Regions from separate parts of the Homo sapiens genome. Here region 2 is linked to region 1. The links are contacts of gene promoters, found by promoter capture Hi-C in blood cells and fetal thymus (Javierre and others, 2016). All regions are on one chromosome and are shown on one strand. Each heading gives the region's core, a stretch centred on a gene start or on the middle of the fragment in contact. The rest is flanking DNA. Distances are from core to core; before and after follow the strand shown.

Region 1 (6,399 bases), core at 273-2,772:
CTTAATTATTTAAAAAAAAAAAGGGTTGGGGAGGTGGTTAACTGTTCTAAGGCATTCAACAAGAGGAAACAGGTACCTTTTATGAAAAGGACTTTCAAGTTAAGTCCACAGTTTAACTGAAATAACTTTACAAGAACGTCTCCACATAAAACTCTTAACACCTTACCCCTGGCAGCCGGATGGATGCGATCTATATACAACACGTCTCTTAAAATGCTCTCACAGAAACGGTAATAAGATACTCTTAACTTCCTTAAGTCAAATCCACATTCGGCCGCGCTGCCACCTGCAGAATTAGCTGAAGGGGAAACAATAAAGGTCCTGCCGGACAGCCATGAGCAGCCCTGGTGCTGCTCCCCGGATGCCCCCGAGCCGAGAAGCGAAGGCCACGCTGGGAATGTCGTCCTCGGAGGCAGAGTACGGGGAAGGGATGGTTCTGAGCAGGTGGGCATCATGGAGGCTCCAGATTCTCGTGTAGCAGTCCTGGCCCACTGCCACCACGATTCCCTCTTCCTCGTGCACATGCAGGGGCAGATAGGCGGACTCATTCACGTGACCTTCGTACTGCCTTACACATTTAGTGGCCCTCAGATCCCACAGCTTGATCTTTCCAGTCATGTCTGATGCCATCAGGCATTGCTCTTCTTGGAGGATTTGCACAGAGGTCACTGCTGAGTCATGGAACAGGCGAGTGGCCCTCCACCCCTTGCCTCGATTTCTACAACGCAGATCAATGGCAAAGATCTCCCCGGAGCGACAGCCATTAAACAGCAAAGGAGCCGTACTAGCAAACTGCTGGGCCAAGACATCACTGCTGGTATCAAATGACTGCTGGTGTCCCGTCGCCACGCTGGTCAACAGGACCTGCTGAGACAAGCCTGCACTAAAGCAGTGATATGCCCGGGTGTTGAGGGACCACGCACAGGACCAGGCCTCTGGGATCTGGAAACTGCAGAGCATGCCAGGCTGGTTAACTCTTGTGTGAACACTTAAGAACCGCGACGCTGGGAGCAGCACTGCACAGCTTGGAGCATCTGTGATTCCCTCGAAGCACAGCAGAACGTGAGAGTCCAACTGGTTCAGCGAGGCCCAGCACAGGGACTTCACCTTCCGGTTGGGGACGTAGAGGTTTCTGAGCACGTACACGTGGAACGAAGGGATCTTCAGAGTTCGCAGGCTGATGATGCCGTACTTGGAGCCTTCGACTTCGACCTGGTTCACTACGAAGAGCTGGTCGCTGTTGGTACTCGCCAGAATGAAGTTAAATCGGTCGCTCGCCAAAGAGGAGGGATCCAAGCTCCGAATTTGGACCTTTTTCCGCTCCATGCAGCTCACACGCAGCTCGTTGGCTAAACGGGAGTAACTGGTGACGTTGAGGAAACCTAGCTGGCTTTTTCGGAGCATGGAAGATGCATTAAATCCCATTCTGGCTACCTTTTTCAGCTTGGCCTCTTCCTCGAGGAGTCGCAGCCTTTCAGCCTCCATTTCCTCCTGCGGAATGTTCCTCGTGACAGGAAATTCTGCAGGATGTTCTTCTCCGTGACAGGATGTTCTTTTCCGTGACAGGAAGTTCCGTCCGGGTGCAAGCGGAAGTGTTGCTACTTTTTATCCTCTCTATTCTAGGAGGAAGTCCATTGTTACAGATGTGTATTACAAATCTCTTTTCCTACTCTGTGGGTTGTCGTATTCTCTCAGTGGTGTCTTGATGAAAGGAAGTTCTTGATGTTAAATTTTTTCCTTTCTCTTTTTGAGACAGGGTCTTGCTCTTTCACCCAGGCTGGAGTCCAGTGGCACGACCACGGCTCACTGCAGCCTGGAACTCCTGGGCTCAAGTGATTCTCCTACCTCTGCCCTACTTAGCTGGGACTATGGGCTCACAACACCATGCCAGGCTACTTTTTTTGTAAAGATGGGGTCTCCCTGCTTTGCCGATGCTAGTCTGGAACTCTTGAGCTCAAGCAGCCTGTCCGCCTCAGCCTCCCAAAGTGCTGGGATTACAAGCATGAGCCCACGCGCCCTGCCTGTATTTCTTATTTTTTTATTTTTTATTTTAAGACGGAGTCTCGCTCTGTCGGCCAGGCTGGAGTACAGTGGCGCGATCTCGGTTCACTGCAAGCTCTGCCTCCCACGTTCACGCCATTCTCCTGCCTCAGCCTCCCAAGTGGCTGGGACTACAGGCGCCCGCCACCACGCCTGGCTAATTTTTTTTGTATTTTTAGTAGAGACAGGGTTTCACCGTGTTAGCCAGATGGTCTCGATCTGCTGACCTCATGATCGGCCCGCCTCAGCCTCCTAAAGTTCCGGGATTACAAGCGTGAGCCACTGCGCCCGGCCGCCTGTATTTTTAAAATACAGTTAGAGACCAGCCTGGGCGGCATGGTGAAACTTTGTCTCTAAAAAAATACAAAGATTAGGCCGGGCGCAGTGGCTCACGCCTGTAATCCCAGCACTTTGGGAGGCGCAGGCAGGCGGATCACGAGGTCAAGAGATTGAGACCATCCCGGCTAACACGGTGAAACCCCGTCTCTACCAACAATTAAAAAAATTAGCCGGGCATCGTGGCGGGCGCCTGTAGACCCAGCTACTCTGGAGGCTGAGGCAAGAGAATGGCGTGAACCCGGGAGGCGGAGCTTGCAGTGAGCCGAGATCGCGCCACTGCATTCTAGCCTGGGCAACAGAGCAAGACTCTGTCTCAAAAAATAAATAAATAAATAAAATACAAAAATTAGCGGGGTATGGTGCACACCTGTAGACCCAGCTACTCAGGAGACTGGGAGGGAAAATCACTTGAGCCTAGGAGTCTTGGAGGGAAAATCACCTGAGCCCTGAAAGTTGAGGCTGCAGTGATCACCCCACTGCACTCCAGCCCAGCTGGGAGACAGAATAAGACCCTGTCTCAAAAAGAAAGAAAAATAAGTAAATAAATTATGAATTTATCCAAATTGTCCATTTGTTTCATTAATGGTTAGTGTCTTTCATGTTCTGTTCAGGACATTAGTACCTATTACATGATACTAGTAAAGTTTTGGGGTGTCTTCAAGAGGAGGCTGATATCTCCAGTCCCCATCTGGATGTTTCCTTTGCCACAAAGCTTGCTGACTCCCCTTACGCTATGAATTTCCAGGAATTTTGGAGGACTGGGGAGAGTTGGTAGGGACTACAGAGAAATCCGGTGATATCTGGACTATGGATCCTGTCGGAATCTACAGGCCCCAGAGCTGGGATCACAGAGAGCACAGGAGATTGAGGCCCACACACTTGCCATGGAACATAACATGGGACAAGGGATTTCTATGTATCAGAAGAATGTGTTTCACCACTGCCAAATGGAAGTCAGCTGACAGATGCAGAAGTCTTGCAAAGGGCTATCAAAGCATAGAGGACTGCTTGATACTGAGTTATCAGTGGGGCTGTTAGGAACCCCATATATTCTAACAATGACCTACAGAAAGCAGATAGCAACATGGCGGCAGTCAGACATTTAAGGCATTGCCTGTTTTCCTTCTTAAACCTCCTGACCCCACCATCGGAAGAGCAGGCACATGGAAAAAAAGGGGTGTGTATAAAGAAAGTTGGAACTACGGGTCTAGTCTGCTCTGGAAGGCATGGAGGAAGTTTTTGAAATAAATATGAGACTAATATTTTAAATCAGTAGGACCTAATCTTAATACCTAGAATGAAAGTTTTAATAACTAAGGAGGCTGATACTTTGAAGCAATGAAATCTGACAAAATACCAAGTGTAGAAATGATGAGACTTTCAAGCTTATGCCTCTTGAGGTGAGATTCTCAATCAAACTGATTACACATCTTTGTCTACCCTAGTATACTGTGGACATCTTTAGACAGGGATTGTTTCTTATCCATCTTTCTATCCTTACTGTCTAGTGTATAATATAGTACATGGGACATAGGATATAGATAAGTGAATGAAGGAATGAAAATTATAAGAACTACATGTTTAATTCTCCTTTATTTCATAGGCTCCTTCACTGAGAGGAATAAGGGATTAAGGTTATTTCTGCAAAATCTATCCAACTTCTACTCTACAGGGAGAGCTTTCAATCTATTTCCACTTCTTTTTTTCAATTTTTAATTCCCGTGGATATATAGTAGGTGTATATATTTATGGGGTACACGAGATGTTTTGATACAGGCATGTAATGTGAAATAAGCACATCAGGGTAAATGGGGTATCCATTCCCTTAACCATTTATCCTTTGAGTTACAAACAATCCAATTACACTCTTTAAGTTATTTTAAAACATACAATTAAGTTACTATTGACCATGATCACCCCGTTGTGCTATCAAATAGTAGGTCCTATTCGTTTTTTGTGTTTTGTGTTTTTTTTTGTGTGTGTGTGTGTCTTGCTCTGTTGCTCAGGCTGGAGTGCAGTCGTGCGATCTCGGCTCATTGTAACCTCTGCTTCCTGGGTTCAAGTGATTCTCCTGCCTCAGCCTCCCGAGTAGCTGGGACTACAGGCTCCCGCTACCATGCCAGGCTAATTTTTGTATTTTTAATAGAGATGGGGTTTCACCATATTGGACACACTGGTCTCGAACTCCTGACCTTGTGATCCGCCTGCCTCGGCCTCCCAAAGTGCTGGGATTACAGGCATGAGCCACCACGCCTGGCCAGTCCTATTCATTATTTAACTTTTTTTTTTTTTTAACTCATTTACCATCCCCACCTCCCCCTTCTTTTCTGATTAACTAACTTTCCTTCCCTCTCAATAAACATATAAATCAACCTTCTAGAAAAAATAAGTCTCCTTAAATGCTACATGACTTTTTATCTACTGTCTTAAAAAATTATTTCAGCCTTTAGGATTCTTTCCTTCTCTTTTAGGAATTTACATACTCCATTCCCACCATGCCACTCCATTTCCTTCATCCACCATCTCTTCCCATTTCTCCATAGAAGAAATTGGAAACGTTCCCCATAACTCTCACAACTCTGCCCCTCAGGTCTTACCCCAGCTCAAGGTCCCATACTCACCCTGCCCAACCACATCGTGTGACCTTTGCAGCAGTGGTTCTCATCCTGGGACAACTGTTGGCAATATCTGGAGACATTTTTAGCTGTCACAACTGGATACTACTGGCATCGAGTGGGTTGAGGCTGGAGATGCTGCTAAACATCCTACAACACATAGGGCAGCCTCTTACGACAGAGAATTATACCCCAAAAAACTCCTCTCCTCAGAGTTAAAATTCAGAACTGTGTATAAAAGGCAAGGCTTACCAGCTTCCACCATGTGTGTGTGTGTTTTAAATTCCTAAATCTTCACACATGCCACATGCCTCTTAATACTGACCGTTTTTCCCATCCCCCACCTCTGTTCATGTCTGAAGCCACTTCCTCACTTTAGCATCACTGTTGTGAGTCACAGAGAGAGGAACAAGAGGCAACATTCCTCATCTTTTTACTCCAATATCTATACAAGACGGATAGGGAGGTAAAAAGATAAACAGGGATAGATTCCTACTCTATTCTATTCTGAGCCTCTTGCAAAGTCATATTCCAAATGCTTCAGATAGGCTTCACTGCAGCTTATTTATTCTTACCAATTTCACTATACTTTTTCCCAATATCTCCAACATCCCTTTTCTTGTCTTTGAGAAGCTTCCTGGAAATAACTTTTGTCTGACATGAATCTAAACGTATTATATTTCTGTGACATTTTACACTAATTATTGCTCTTTCTAAAAATACCCAGGCCTTTACTTTTTAGCCAATTTTTTTGTTGTTGTTGTTTCTAAAACAGAAGGTGAACTGGGTCAATTCAGGTATTAATTTTAGCTATGCCATATCAACTTCTGGACACAAGCAGCTAAAGAGAAACTGGAATGGGAAGAAAATTCCATTCCTGCCCTGTTTCCTGGTTAGGAAGGAGCAGACTTTAGAGAAGGAAGGCCAAGCATGGTTTGTAACAGGCTGAAAACATGCCCTTGAAAGCTGAGGCCTCAAGTGTGCCTGTGAAATGGTAAACAAACCCGGTAATGGTAAATGAGCCATGGCTTTGGCTTATTTGCAATAAGGAACAAATCAATTGAAGTATTTCATATTCCTCTCAGAAGAGAACCATAAAGAGCCATGAGACTTCCCAAACAATTGGGATAAATGGGAGAATTTAATAAATAGAATGAAACAAACAGAAGGAAATAAAAAAATGAGCAAAATGCTTTTTAAAAAGCTAAAAACATTTTAGAAAGTGTGAGAATAATAATTACTAAACCCACATGTCTGTAACAAATGAATTGCAATGAAAGGCCAGAGTACAAATAAGAATTATTCATTAACTTGCACTGTAGCATCTGCTACTTGTTATTTCAGCAAATGAATTGTGCAGTAATGACAGTGAATTCTAAACTTGAATATCTAATAATTGAACAGT
Region 2 (5,907 bases), core at 1,029-3,528, 490 kb before region 1:
CCCGGGACAGTACCTCAATAAAAGTCCTTAAATTAATAACTCTTGGGGGCAGAAGAAAGATCCTGAGATCTGCTTTATTCTCCTTGTGTTCTTCCGCAGAGCTTTAATCACATACTAAAGGATCACTTAATACTTAAGTAAATACTTGAATCAATGACACCTGGAGGCACATTCCCAACTCTACACTCTTTTCCAAGTCCAATTCCAACTTTTCAGTCAGCATGCTTAAATGAGTCTGCCAGAGTATCCCACTACTATCTAAACTTCTGAGTATCTAGAACTTCCCTGATACTTTTCCGCTGTCAATATTCTTCTTGCCTTTTCCATTTACGTTTAGACCCTCATTCTCCCAGTAACCCAAATTTGAAACCTCAGGGTCATTTTTGAAACCACTTTTATTTGGGGCCCTCTGTGTTTTTATTTTCATTTTCATTGTCCTTTTCCTAGATCATATTCAGATATATATAAAACATACTTTGGTCAATCCAAATTAATGTTTTTAGGAACTGCCTCAACCATGCTCTTTTTTTTCTTTTTCTCTCTTTTTTTTTTTTTTTTTGAGACAGTCTCGCACTGTCACCTGAGCTGGAGTGCGATGGCGCGATCTCAGCTCACTGCAACTGCAACCTCCATCTCCCAGGTTCACGCAATTCTCCTGGCTTAGCATCCCGAGTAGCTGGGATTATGGGCGCACATCACCACACTCAGCTAATTTTTTTTTGTATTTTTAGTAGAGACAGGTATGTTGGCCCGACTGGTCTTGAACTCCTGACCTCGTGATCCGCCCACCTCGGCTTCCCAAAGTGCTGGGATTACAGGCGTGAGCCACTGCTCCTGGCCAAATTTCTCTTTCTTGTAACATTTCCATTTATTTGGTTCCACTACCTTTTTTTTTTTTTAACTGTGAATTTACTAGCCATTTTTGTTTACAATGGAAACTCTGGGAATTCAAAATTAACATCCTCGCCTGTGAGCTGCTTATAGACACCAGAAAAAGTTTCAGCCTTGCTTTCCATGTTGTTCTCCTATGCTTTGTCCAAATGAACCTTTATGAGCCGGCTGTCATCCAGTTTCACACAGATTCTCTTGCCCACAATTTCACTTGGGAAGATCAAGTCCTCAAGAATTGTGTCATATACAGCTCCTAGGATGTTTTTGCTTATTTTTTGTATGGCTTTTTCAAGCTGGCTTAGGCAGAATTCTCCTCTGAGCAATAAAGACAGCATGCTTCCCACTGAACTTTTTCTCCAATTCACGTACTAGCCAGAGTTGGATTTTCTGGAAAGATTTCAGTTGAGGAACAGGAACAAAGATTATGATAGCTTTCTGGACACCACCAACTTAGGCTCTTTGGCTGCTGTAATACTCAGCTTCCTGAGCTGAGCCTTGAGGTCCGAGTTTATCTCCAGCTCCAGAAGAGCCTGAAAGATGCCGGACTCTTAACTCGTTTGGCGTCTCGCTGTTGGGCTTCACAGTCTTGGTGCTTGAAATGAACATGGCCTTCTCCTTGCTAAGCGCCAGCCTAGGAAGAGCTTGCTACCATTTTTAATTCTGCCTTGTGCTGAGTACAGTGCTAGGTTCAATATAACTAGATGATATTTTCTGAAGAGAAAATGAACAGCAATATTGTAGATAAACTAAGCTTTCTTGTGTGAACACCATAATAAATATCTATACTAGGCGGAGTTCTCTTTTTAGTGCCTTTCATAGGTCTATTTGCTAATTAGTGCACACATGCACATACATGCATAATCAAATACACACCATCAATAGAAACGGTCCCTATTTAAACTACTTATCTGAATCATTGAAGCAGAAGGCAGTACGTTTACCTATAACCACATAAATTCTACAAAAGAGAGGTTTTATATCTAAAATGCATTGCAGAAAGGAAATCTTTTTTAAATTTGCTTTCCTTTTTTGTCCTATGGAAAGGCTATCTGTATTTTATTTCTGTAGACTCAGTCTCTATATTGTAAGGTCTCCTGAATGCCTATGACTGCACAGTATATCAACAGATGTTGGTTTTGGAGGCTAGGAGAGCTCTCACTCATCAGTCATTTGAATAGCGCACTTCTAGGTAAGAAGTGGTTGAATGTTTCATTATGTACCATATTGCTAAGTATCATTTTTAAGACTTGCTATGTAAGCTGCTGTTTTCATTCCAAGTAACAAGTTGATGGTGAGCTTCTAGAGGAGTTAACAATATTTTGTAGTTTTTGTACATCAGGTTTTTTTTTGCTGTATCTTAATTTTTTCTCAATGTGAAATTTTATAAATGAACCTGCCAAATTTTAGTTCAGAAGGATTCAAGTAAGATCTTCTAGTTTACGTTTTTCTCTCCTTTTGTAATTTCTGTAAATAGTCAACAAAATATGAGTCAGTTGGAAATACACTGATATTCACAGGAGAAATCTTAGGAAGTTTGTTGCAAAGAAAAGCACAGCAGATCCCCTCACTAATGATTCTGACCTCTAAATAGGCACCTGGAGCAGACCTCAAATTTAAAGTTTGAGGAAGTTAAAGAAATTTAGTAAATACTGGGCTTGGTCACTATATAAAACACTTCAGGAGAACTAGAAAATACTATGTTCCTTCATATTCTTCTAAAAAGTTTTCTAGATTTACCTTCTAAAGGCAACTTCATAGTAATTTTTAAGTTTCCAGTATAAGTCTTTGAGATCATATTATATTATCAGTATAATTTTGTGTATATGTAAGAATTTTTTAGGTTATTAATCCCAAAACACAATCCAGTGGATAAATTATTGTATTCCTTTTGGCTACCTATAAAAAATTCCTTAAATTATCCTTTATTATACATCTATTATATATATGTACATATATTCTTCATATTTCATTTAGAAAGGTGATTCATTTAGCTAATCCCATTAAGAGTGCAAAACAAGCTTCATGTAAGATGGACCACCTATATACTTCTTAGCTTAAATGGTAAAAATTTCCAGTGCTCTGATCTAACGTTCACAGGGCAGTGAGAGTTACTGCATAGAAAATAAGAAAAATAATGAATAACATGTGCAGAAACTACAGCCAAAATAATATCTGAAAAGCATATTGCACTCAGTGCACGTCTAGGTTGTATCAGAAAGGACCACCCTCTGTTTGTGGAGCCACAGGGAAGAGAAAGGGACGTTTACAGTACACATTGGATACGTAGTCTTTTTCCATGGAGTCTCTTCTACCAAAGAAGAAAAAGCAACGGTGGAACAGAAGATAACTGTGAATAATTTAAATCCTGGATGCAGACCCACAAATGGTTAAAATAAAACAATCTCAGGGAAGAAAACAGTGCCTTTATGATGTTTCAGAATTATACGTTGAGTCACTATTGGCATTTGTTTAGGTTTTAGATATTCTCAGCCATGGATATGTGATTTTTTTTATAGACATAGGAAGAATTAAGTTGTTGTGTGGTAAGGTAGTTCTAGACTCATGGAAATTGTATGAATCTAGAAGCAAGTGTACTGACAATCAAGAAAGTAAATAAACTCTGAGTAGAGTAATCTTTTAACAGGTGGAGACACAGCAGTAGAAAATAATATATTCTGGAGAATTTTGAGTGTGAAGTTAAAATTTATTATGTGCTATTTCTGTTACCTGAAGTGAACTCTCCTCTCCTTTCAAAGGCCAAGTCAAATTCTAACTTATCAAGGGAGGCCTCTTAAAGCCCATGTTGATTTCTGAAATTATCAAAGAGGGGCAATCATATCAAAGCTTTATGCTACATTCATTTTTAATGTCTTATAATTTTGTTTTGCTATATTGTAACCCCCTTGTAGCAAGGAACCATTTTTTAAATGGATGCTATAAAAATAGTGGATCTTTTTTACTGACTTCAGCTTGACAAACCTGAATCCCTTTCAGCCACATTCCTTCCCTACAGCCTTCTGCCAGGTACTCACAGCACACTATGCTCACACCCAGAGGCTCTTGGGTGTGTACATGCTCTTCGGCTTCCATGAATTGACTTGGTGCATTGTAAGTGGGGCTCGTTCCCTAGTATGTTTATTCCTGTTGTACTTCTTGAAATAATCATTTAATTAAATATCTCATAACTTCATTCAAATAACTGAGTAAAAATTATTGCTAGTAAATCCAGGTATAATGCTCTAAAAGACTTTTTGAGTTGCTAAAAAATATTGCTGTCAAATTTTGGAGTAAACTAACTATAAACTGGGGTAAAAGGAATCAGTACATTCTGGTCTCCATTTTAGTGAGGCAAACCATTGACTATGCCTGAGTGAGATTTCTGCTACAAAAACATGCAGTTTCAAACAGCAGACCCCTATGCAAAGTAAGGTTCTTTGACCTGCATCACAGTTTGTACATTTATATTTTGAGTTAAATATTTTAAGAATGTATATTTTATTTTGTATGAATCTCCACTTAAATCTGACATCTTTGTTTAGCAACCAACTGATGTTTCAGAATCATAAGAAAAGGCTTCCATTATGTCTTTTGTTTTAATTTTTTATTTCCATAGGTTTTGAGGGAACAGGTAGTATTTGGTTACATGAATAAGTTCTTCAATGGTGATTTGTGAGATTTTGTGTACCCATCACCCGAGCAGTATACACTGTACCCAATTTGTAGTCCCCCTCCCACCCTTTCCCCTGAGTCCCCAAAGTCCATTGTATCATTCTTATGCCTCTTCATCCTCACAGCTTAACTCCCACATATGAGTAAGAACATACAATGTTTGTCCATTCCTGAGTTACTTCACTTACAATAATAGTCTTCAGTTCCATCCAGGTTGCTATGAATGCCATTCATTCATTCCTTTTATGGTTGAGTAGTATTCCATCTCATTCATATATGTGTATGTGTGTGTCTGTGTGTGTGTGTGTGTGTGTGTATAAAATATATAAAATATGTATATATAAAATATATACACACACATACATATATATACACACATACCACAGTTTCTTTATCCGCTTGTTGATTGATGGGCATTTGGGCTGGTCCCATATTTTTGCAATTGCAAATTGTGCTGCTATAAACATGCATGTCCCAGTAGCTTTTTTGTATAATGACTTATTTTCCTCTGGGTAGATACCCCATAGTGGGATTGCTGGATCAAATGGTAGTTCTACTTTTAGTTCTTTAAGGAATCTCCACACTGTTTTCCATAGTGATTATACTAGTTTACATTCCCACCAGCGGTGTAGAAGTGTTCCCTGATCACCGTATCCACACCAACATCTATTCTTTTTTGATTTTTTTATTATGGCCATTCTTGCAGGAGTAAGGTGGTATCGCATTGTGGTTTTGATTTGCATTTCTAAAGAGCTTCTGCACAGCAAAAGGATCAGTCAGCAGAGTAAACAGACAACCCACAGAGTGGAAGAAAATCTTCACAATCTGTATATCCAACAAAGAACAAATATCCAGAGTCTACAAGGAACTCAAACAAATTAGCAAGAGAAAAAACAATCCCATCAAAAAATGGGCTAAGGACATGAATAAACAATTCTCAAGATATACAGATGGCCAACAAACATATGAAAAAATGCTTGACATCACTAATGGTCAGGGAAATCCATTATGTCTTCAATCTTATTCCAAGAGGGTCATCCACTTTTGTTTTCCCGAGATGGAGTCCCGCTCTGTCACCCAGGCTGGAGTGCAGTGGCGCCATCTCAGCTCACTGCAACCTCCACTTCCTGGGTTCAAGCGATTCTCCTGACTCAGCTTCCCGAGTAGCTGGGACTACAGGCACGCGCCCCTATCCCTAGCTAATTTTTTGTATTTTTATTTGAGATTGGATTTTACCATGTTGCCCAGGCTGGTCTCGATCTCCTGACCTCGTGATCCGCTCACCTCAGCCTCCCAAAGTGCTGGAATTACAGGCATGAGCCACTACGCCCAGCCAGTCATCCACTT

The links. The method cuts DNA at HindIII sites, captures the fragments that hold promoters and counts their contacts. A CHiCAGO score of 5 or more calls a contact.
Region 2: a contact is called between a fragment that was not itself captured here and the fragment with the promoter of DCAF4L1 in region 1, in 1 of 17 cell types (total B cells). The highest score is 5.4, in total B cells.

Annotation. Positions count from the first base shown.
Region 1 is chr4:41,976,879-41,983,277 of GRCh38, reverse strand. It overlaps DCAF4L1 (DDB1 and CUL4 associated factor 4 like 1), which reads right to left and starts at 1,522. Exons shown (of 1, transcript NM_001029955.4): 1 at 1-1,522. The coding sequence starts at 1,485. The coding sequence ends at 295. RefSeq lists enhancers at 260-1,032, 592-1,791. The HindIII fragment of the contact is 3,961 bases long and covers 1-3,093 here.
Region 2 is chr4:42,467,400-42,473,306 of GRCh38, reverse strand. The region is part of intron 25 of ATP8A1 (ATPase phospholipid transporting 8A1); the gene reads left to right. It also overlaps the pseudogene RPS7P7. Among named protein-coding and RNA genes, the nearest start is that of SHISA3, 73 kb to the right of the region's middle. The HindIII fragment of the contact is 1,267 bases long and covers 1,645-2,911 here.